Regions from separate parts of the Homo sapiens genome. Here region 2 is linked to region 1. The links are contacts of gene promoters, found by promoter capture Hi-C in human tissues and cell types (Jung and others, 2019). All regions are on one chromosome and are shown on one strand. The core of a region is centred on a gene start or on the middle of the fragment in contact, and the rest is flanking DNA. Distances in the headings are between cores, read along the strand shown. Region 1 holds the start of TMEM171 (transmembrane protein 171). Region 2 has its middle 46 kb from the start of LINC02230.

What was found. The method cuts DNA at HindIII sites, captures the fragments that hold promoters and counts their contacts. A contact is called where the count stands out against the background at its distance.
Region 2: a fragment that was not itself captured here is called in contact with the fragment with the promoter of TMEM171 in region 1 in 1 of the 25 tissues and cell types used here (aorta).

The regions. Positions count from the first base shown.
Region 1 is chr5:73,118,267-73,122,932 of GRCh38, reverse strand. TMEM171 (transmembrane protein 171) reads right to left here and starts at 2,358. Exons shown (of 4, transcript NM_173490.8): 1 at 2,237-2,358. LOC124901001 reads left to right here and starts at 2,442. Exons shown (of 2, transcript XM_047417978.1): 1 at 2,442-4,666. The coding sequence starts at 2,504. The coding sequence ends at 3,205. RefSeq lists an enhancer at 2,968-3,519. The HindIII fragment of the contact is 7,583 bases long and covers 1-4,666 here.
Region 2 is chr5:73,382,187-73,386,273 of GRCh38, reverse strand. No RefSeq gene overlaps it. Among named protein-coding and RNA genes, the nearest start is that of LINC02230, 46 kb to the right of the region's middle. The HindIII fragment of the contact is 7,475 bases long and covers 1-4,087 here.

The DNA of each region.
Region 1 (4,666 bases), core at 1,109-3,608:
ATTGCAAATGCCCCACTTTTCATCATAGCTGCTCTCAGCATTTTCAAGTCAGTTCAGTAACTAACTTTCCATTTCCTGTTTTAGACTACAGCAGCTTTCCATTTCATGTTTTATTCTAAGGCTACATCTACAAAAGACCCAATTTCAGCAATTTCAATAGAATAAGAAGTCTGTTCAGGAACACAGTGGGTTTGGTGGACTTTTAAGTTGATTCTATCAAAATGTGGTTCTTGAGGCCAGGCGTGGTGGCTTGCGCCTGTAATCCCAGCACTTTGGGAGGCAGAGGCAGGCAGATTGCTTGAGCTCAGGAGTTCGAGACCAGCCTGGGTGACATAGCAAAACCCCATCTCTGCTAAAAATACAAACTTTAGCCAGGCATGGTGCCTGTGGTCCCAGCTACTTGGTAGGCTGAGGTGGGAGGATTGCTTGAGCCCAGGAGCTGGAGGTTGCAGTGAGCCAAGATCACGCCACTACTCTCCAGCCTGGGCAACAGAGTGAGACCCTGCCAAAAACAAAACAAAACAAAACAAAATGGTTCTTGGGTTCTCAACAAGCACAGACTGGTGACCCAGTTGCTTGGATCTGGGATGACCCTGGAAAGTGTTGCACAGCAGGTCAACAGGAGCTCAATTTTCAGAGTGGACAGGTACCCAAAGGCTGGTGTGGCCTCTCACTCACCCTCCTCCATGGTGTCACCTACTTCCACAAAGAGGTTGAGACTCAGTTAAAAAACAAGCAGCCAATAAAACTGCTAGTTATAAAGCACAAAATGGGTGGAAGGGGGGAACTTGGCTTTGAAAGAATAGTATAAGTGGAATCAAGTGAGAAAGCACCTTCCAGAAAATCACCCAAGCCCTGTACTTCAGGGGTATAATATATTAAATATGCCAAGTGGTTGTTAAAGAGTTGTCTAGCTTACACAGAGCTGACCTAATTATCTCGTTATCTTATTTTACTCCAATGAATGGGATATTTTACCAGGACCCCGTAAGTCAGGTCCTGCAATTGCAAAGACAATCCAAAATCGTGAAGACTATTTTCACCTGCCCAAGGAAAGAAAACTTTTAAAATATTTTGTGCCGCTCACATCCATGGTCCCATGAAGGAACTCAAGACTGAGGCCCTAAGCCCAAGATGATCTTGACAAACCAAAATCACACTGAGGGAAGGTCAGTTTAGGTAAAGAAAGCAAACAGGCAATCTTACACTGGGAAAAACTTTTCCAGGAAAAAGTATGATAGAATCAGAAGGAAGTTGGAGAAAAAAAGGAAATATAGGAGGGAAAAAAGCTTTCATTTCAAACTTGGAAAAACTTGATATACAGATGCAGTTAAGCTGAGACAAAGCATTGCACTAATTTTTTAATCTTCCCATTTTTTATTAAGTCAGTAACATCCTGCAGTGAATAAGAATTTCATATTGAGTATACAGTAGTCCTCATTTATCCTACAGGGAGTACATTCCAAAACTCTCAGTGGAATGAAACGATGGAGAGTCCTGAAACCTATATATATTGGTTTTTTGTTATTGTTGTTGTTTTAATTTTTTTCCTGAATCATGCAATCTCTTTTGCGGTTTCGGAGACAAGAAAGAGAAGGGTGATTCTCGGCTGCAAAGTCCTATCAGGAATTCATTTATTCCCAGTATAGTCAACTTTGCAGTGAGTCACAAGGCTTCAACTGTCTTAAGGCAAATTCCCAAACACCAGTAAATAGAAGCCCAAAACTGAATCTGTAGTTTCTTGTCCGTGGACTAGTGGACGGAGCACCTGGCTGAGTGTTCACCTCTGATCCATAATAGTGTGGAAATACTCTCTCTCTCTCCTTCTCCCACAGATGCACTCACAAACGGATACAAAGACACCCACATTCACTCGCAATGAAACCTTTTCCAAACACCACCCTACACTTAAACTCCCCAAAGCCAAACTCCCCTCTCCAACACTCCTATTGGTTTTCCAAAAGACATTTCCAAAATTCACAGCACCTCTCCACGTCCAAAGCTATGGTGCGTTTGGGGAACGAAACGAGAGGCAAATGCCTTCTGTGCGAAATCGGTTTGCGGCTTTTAGGGAGCCCGAGCGCAAGCAACAGCCGGAGGGGCTCGCAGGGACGCAGGTTGGGCTCGGATACCCAGCGCCTCCGCGCTGCCGCGGCTCCCCGCGCCCAGCCTGGCCGCACAGCTCAGCGCCCGACCCGCCGCCGCCGGCGCAGGCGCGCGGGCCGGGGCAGCTTACCTGAAGCTGGGTCCGGCGCCTGGCTGACCGCGCTGCTGTGGGCACTGGCTGGGCGCGGCGTCCGCCTCCGCACGCGGCCTCGGCTGCGCCGGCCGCCCTGCACCCTACCCACCGCGCGTCCTGGTGCGGAGGGCGGACCCGGCAGTATTTAGAGAAGGAGGCGGTGCTGCGCGGGCGCGGCGGCCCGGGGAGGGCAGGGCAGGGCAGTGCAGGAGCGACCGGTGGGAGCTGGCCGCCACTGGGGGCCCGGGGCGCGCCCGCGAGGGAATGGAGAGCCAGGGGCGGCTTCGGAACCCAGGGCTGGCGGGTTTGGCAGCCTCCGCGCTCGTGGCCGTGCGCGCGAGGAATCTGGGAGAAATGGGCACCTTCCACGGCTGCCTGGCCCGCACACCTGGCGGGGCCGGCGAGTTGAGATGCCCCCGCCGGCTGGCGGAACTGTGCGCCCCGCCCGCCGAGGCCCGCTCCCCCTCGAGGCCTGAGGCCCAGTTCTATAGGGGCGCGAGAGAGCGGCGGCGTGGGGGGCGCGGAGGAAGCGCCGGCCCCCGCCTCCACCGCCTCCTTCGTGGTTGCGGCCCAGGCCGAACAGGGTACCGTGCCCCGGCCGCCTTGGCCTTGGCCACCGCGAGGTCCGGGGCGACTACACCCAGCAGCCCTGTGGCCCTCCTACTGCTCTGGAGACCTGGAGTGGGGTTACAGAGGGAAGCGACTCGCTGCGAGCTCCCCATCGAATATGGAGCCACCAGGTCACGGGACGACGTGCGCTCTACAGAATGTGAGACAAGGGCCCTCCACACCCAGCCATTCAGGCCTGAGGTCCTGGCTCCGAGACTGAGGCCGAGACGCGGCAAGCCCCGCGCCGGACCAGCTCTGCCCCTCCCGCACCCACGTGTCTGCGCACAGCCCTCCTTTGCGATAGAACCCCCTTCCTGGTTCTCCACCACTAATGATCTGCCGGAATTAAACTGGTAACTTTCCCTGCCCTTGAACCGGGAGTTTCGGGATGAGTTTGCCAATCCCTGTGCTATTTGTAACCAGCCCCGTGACACGTGATACGGATCCAACTGTGCTAGTTTCCACACCAGGGGTCAGGGCACGGTGGAAGGTGAGTCAAGGGTTCTCTGCCCAAGCGCAGAGGTGCCCTGAGCCACGGGGACTTCCCAGCCCTGCCTTCTCTTCTCAGCTTCCTGTCTGCCTTGCCTGAAACCCTATCTAGAGTTAAGGCCAATGGATGAAACTTTTCAATGTGCAAGCAAGCACTTTACCTACCTGATACAACAAGAGATTCCTGGTCATGCTCACTGAAGGTAAAGTATGAAGCAGGCTTAGCTAATCATCAGAGGTGAGAAGAGACTTAAAGAACCAGTCAGAGAGGTAAAGAGGGGAGGGGGTTACCTGGGCTTTAGGGTTCACCAGGGAGGCAGAACGGACAAGTTCTTGCCATTGGAATTTGGTGGGGCACTTGCCTGGGTGGCCAAAGGTGGACTTTTTCATAGCCAGGGTGCCCGACCTCTGTAAATCCCCGCCATAACTAACAGCCCTGATTACTGTCGAAATGAACAATGCCAACACTCACGACCCCTTGCTTTGTGGTTCTTTGCTACATCTCTCCAGCAGTTCAGAAAAGGTTGGAGGCAGCAGGGGACAGGAGACTGAGAAAAACAGTCATTTGTCAGTTGAGGAAACTGAGGTCCAGGCTGACAGAGGTAAAGTAACCTCTGCAGCTGGTTGACATGCAGAGAAGGCCTGAGCCAGATGCAGATGCGCTGACCATTCAGTGTTTCTCCCGCAGCACACCTGTCACTCAGAGAACACACCATGCTGTGAACCCAGAAAACGCCCTCATGGCCTTGTGATGCCAAGCACGTTTAGATTATTATAACAATACAGGCACTGTGTCCCAAGGACATTGCAGTAATCTATGTTTGGGGTGGAGATATCCTTCCTGGTCCAAGTGTCAAGGTATACCACCTTCTGGAAGGGCACCAAAGCATGTCCAGCGAATGGGCAGATACCCAAGAGTGGATTGTACAACAGCAGGCACTGGCTTTCTAAGAACTCAGGCCCTCATTATAGGATTTGTCCCCTCTGACACAGGCCTGTGAACAACTCTTCATTGTGCAAAAGGGTTTCCTTGTCCTTTCCCTACTCATTCTTCCCTTCCCCCTTATTTGAAACTGAATCTCTGGCCATGTCATGTGCAGGCCTGCAAGGGGCCTGTTGATACAGCTGCCCCTCTGGTGCCACATGACTGCAGGCTCACCACCCATGACAGACTTGAATATCCTGGCACCAAGGACAATCAGATTAGCCTCCACTTGGTATATCTGCTGTTCTCACTGTTTGTGTCTATGAGAGCCTGTTTGACTAAATTAAACTCCTTGGAAATTGATCATCGATTATGTATGAAAGACATACCCACCAGCCTTTGAG
Region 2 (4,087 bases), core at 216-2,715, 260 kb before region 1:
TTCTTCAGTATGTATGACATGACAACTCTCTTTTCCCAAAGTGAGTGATCCAAGAGAAATCAAGGCAGAAGACACAATATGTTTTATGATCTAGCCTTCAAAGTTACACATTGTCATTTCCATACTATACTACTGGTTACACAGTTCAGTCCTATTTAGTATGGGAGTGGACAACAAAAAGTGTAAATAATAGGAAAAGAGAATCATTGGGGCCAGTCCTGAAAGTTGGTTATCACAGAATTGAACTATGCTGACAAATGATGAAGTGAATTAAAAGTAGTTATTAAGTGCATGTTTGAGCTCAGCATATTTTGTTTCCAAACATTTTCCCAAATCCATGGACACAGGTGCCTATCATATGTCTGAGTATTATCTGACAAGCCCTGAGTGTGGAATCAAAGTTAAATACTAGGTCACTGGAGTCAGGACTGGATATAAATCTGGCTCATTTGCCTACTTGTTTGAGCCTATATTTCCTCGTTTGCAAACTGGATTAATATACTTATTTCACAGGCTTATTATAGCCATTAATCAAAAGATCATAGAACAGTATCTAAGTATTCAATCAATGGTAGGTATTTTCATTAATTATTATTGTTCTTATTATACAATTTAGCTTGAAAGATTACCATAAGTGCAGAGAGTTTGCATTCTGGCACTCACATAACAAGAAGCCTGAATGTTGCCCAGTTTCAGGTATAATTAATGCTGTGGTTCAGTGACATCATCAAATACCCAGATTCTTTCCATCTTTCTTCTCTGTCATCCTTGGCATTTGGATTCTTCCCTTGGAGTCATAAGATAAATACAGCAACTTGGAGCATCATGTCCTCACACAATTACATCCAAAGGCTGAAAAAGTAAGGCCCTTCCTTTTATGCATTTTAACGTGAAAAAAATATTTCCATACCTCTAGAAGACTATTCCTCAGGTTTAATTGATCTTAATTGTATTGCATGTTCATTTCTAAGCCAATCATTTGCAGGGGATAAGGAATGATCAGTTTTTAGCTTAGATTAATCAAAGCTATTCCTTCAGGCTGGGGAGAGGCTTGGCTTTCTGGAAGCATGTTGCTGTGTGATGCCTGAAAAAAATTAATATGTAAGAATGACAAGAATGGCTGTTGGGTGAGCCACCAGCCTCTATTACAGGGTCCATGAGAGATACAACTGTGAAAAGTTTGCTTTCTGAAAATGCCTTTATTCTATCTGTACACTTGGTGGGTAGTTTAGCTGGATATAGAATTCTGGACTGGAAATGATTTTTCCTTAGAATTGTAAACATTGCTCTCTTTCCTTTTCACTTTCGGTGTTATTTTTGAGAAGTCCAATGCCTTTTTGATTCCTGATTTTGGTAAAGGACCTGTTTTTCTTTCTAGAAGTGTTTTGAAGTTTCTATTTATTCATGAGTTTCTGAAATTTTATGATTATGTGCTTTGGTCTAAAAATTTTTCCTTCTTTGTATTGGGCACCCAATTGGTCCTTCCAGTCTGGGAAGTCATCCCAATTAATTCTGGGAAATGTTCTTGTACCATATTATTAAATAATTTTACCTCTCTATTATCTCTGTACTTTCTTTCAGAAATTCAACTTGAATGTTAGGCCTCCTGTATTGATCTAGTTTCCTTATCTTTTTGTTTCTATTTTTTTCCATCTTTTGGTCCTTTTATTCTTTTTTTGAAATATTTCTGTAACTTCATCTGGACTTCAACTTTTACTGAATTTATTTCTACCACATTTTTAATTTCCAAAATTTATTCCTTATTCTCTTAATGTTTCTTTTTTAGAGCATCCTTTTCTTATTTCACGGATACAATCAATAGTTTTTCTCATCTCCTCAAAGATTTTACTTACAGGATTTGTTTGTTTTATGTGTGTTTTTAAAAATTTTCTCTACTTCCTCTTGGTTACTTATTTTTCCATTTTGGTCTTCATCTTTTGTTAAAGAGTTTCCTTAAAATATCTGATGATTTTTCTTCACTTTCTCATATTTTAGTGAAGAGAGCACTTTCCCCCACCTTACTGCCTACTAATAAGGTAAGTTGTAATATTAGAACAGGAAGGAATGCCTATCTTCACTTTACAGATGAGAAACTGAGGCATATGGTATTATATAATCTAGCTAATAAAATGCAGCCAGAGTGTGATGAATGTGAGCTCCAAGTACAATACTGACTCAGTAGGTAAAACTTATCCTTGGCATTGGCCCTCCTCTCTTGTCTTTTTCTCTCTCTCTCCCTCAGTTTGGTTTCAGAAGAAAAATCTATTGACATTTAAAATGAAGCAGGAATTAATGGCAAGGGAAGAGCTGGTACCTCCCCCTAACGTCACTCTAGTTTTCAGCATTTTAGCGGGGACTGTGTTTACTCAAATTAGCTGTGGAATCAACATAGATAACATTTCTTGATCTGGTATTGTGGTGTGAGGCAACACAGACAATTAATATTGGCCACTGTCCCCAGAGGTTTTACATTTTAGAGGAGATGGACTATTTATCTAAAAAGATAATTACATTATAATTTAGTTGCCCTGCACTCCTTGAGATAGCTTAACACCTTAAAGGTAATGACTGCTTGGCATCATAAGCCAACTTCACCCTGTAAGAACACTGAGATTTCAGAGAAGCCAACTTCACCTTCTAAGAACATCGAGATTTCAGAGGAAGATGTGGGCTCAGAGAGGGCAGCCAGGTCTGCAAGAGTTGGAAGTGCCCACAGGACAGTGGGAGGGCCTCTGTGGAGTCCAGGCAAGGGAAATTGATGAGCAAATGTGAGGGGTTATAATAGGTGACTCAGTGCTCTCCTTGCTTAGATCCCCAGAAGAACAGGGGTCAATACCCAAGCCCTCCGCGTCTGAAAGGCAGCAGTCCTTGGAGTAAGTGTGGGGGGCATGCAGGAGTGACACATGATTCAGACTCAACAGTCACACCAGTGTCTTCTAGTTCTTACTTAACCTTCTTGGTTCTCAACAGCAAACCAAGCTGCAGGGAGAGGGCTTTTTCAAGAGCATTGCTCTTCCGACCTTTTGAGTGTTTTTAGATGAAAAGACATTCTTTTAATATACTTGAAAAATCTGGAAGGAATAATATAAATCAATGCCTTAAGCTTTATCAGCTTCAAGTTTAGTCATTTTTCTTGAACTGAATTCCCCACAGCATTTAAAGAGCAGTAAGAAAGCAGAGCCGTCAGCCCCAGGAGCCAGTCTGGGAAGCTTTGTGATAAACTCGCGGGTCGACTTTTATTCAAAACACACACCAAATCCTATTTCAAGTAATCTTTGGCTTCCAACTTGGCACCCAGCAGCTGATTGAAAATGTCTCCTGGGTGTTGACCTTCCAGACAGACCCTTGCCCTGGAAGGAGCCAACCACCATTCTCTGTCCCCACCTTGGTACACACTCACTGGGAGGCTCCTGGATTCTTTGTGGTCAAGAAGCAGGGATTCCCAGGAACACGAACTTGAGCCCCCAAAGCCAGGAAGCCCAGGGCAAAGTAGGGCGCTGCAAGGACACAGAAGGGTCGCCAAGCCCGCAACCCAACGACCCATGTCAAGCACGCCTCGCCCGCTGCTGCTGGATGTTAAATGTGGGGTTTGTGTTGTTTTAATAAAGCAGGACAGACACATTTCTCACATACCAGGTTTCGCTACACCAGGCCTGTTCCCTCTGGAGGCAGCTAAAGTCGAAGCCGAGGGCGGAACCGCGCGGGCCGCGACTCCCGGTCTCCTGGGCTGCGCCCGGCCTTTGCGGCGGCCAGGGACGCGGGCAGCCTCTGCAGTTGTGCGGGAGCCTCTGGAGCGGCCCCGAGCTCATTTTCCACTCGGCTGCTTCCCGGCCGAGCTGTAAACCCAACCTGACGTGGGCTCATTAATTTGGCAGCGACTGGAAGACTGGGCCATGGCGGCGCACCCGGGAGGCCTTTGTGCGCCCGGGGTCAGGTCAGAGGGCAACTGAAACACGGCTGAACCCTGCACGCGGCTCCCAAGCGCGGACAGCGCGGCCGGAGCCGCTTCCTCCGGCCGGACGGCCCCGGTACCCAGCCTCCCTCCCCGCGGCCCCGCCAGCGCGGCTTCCGGCGTCCGGGAGCGCGG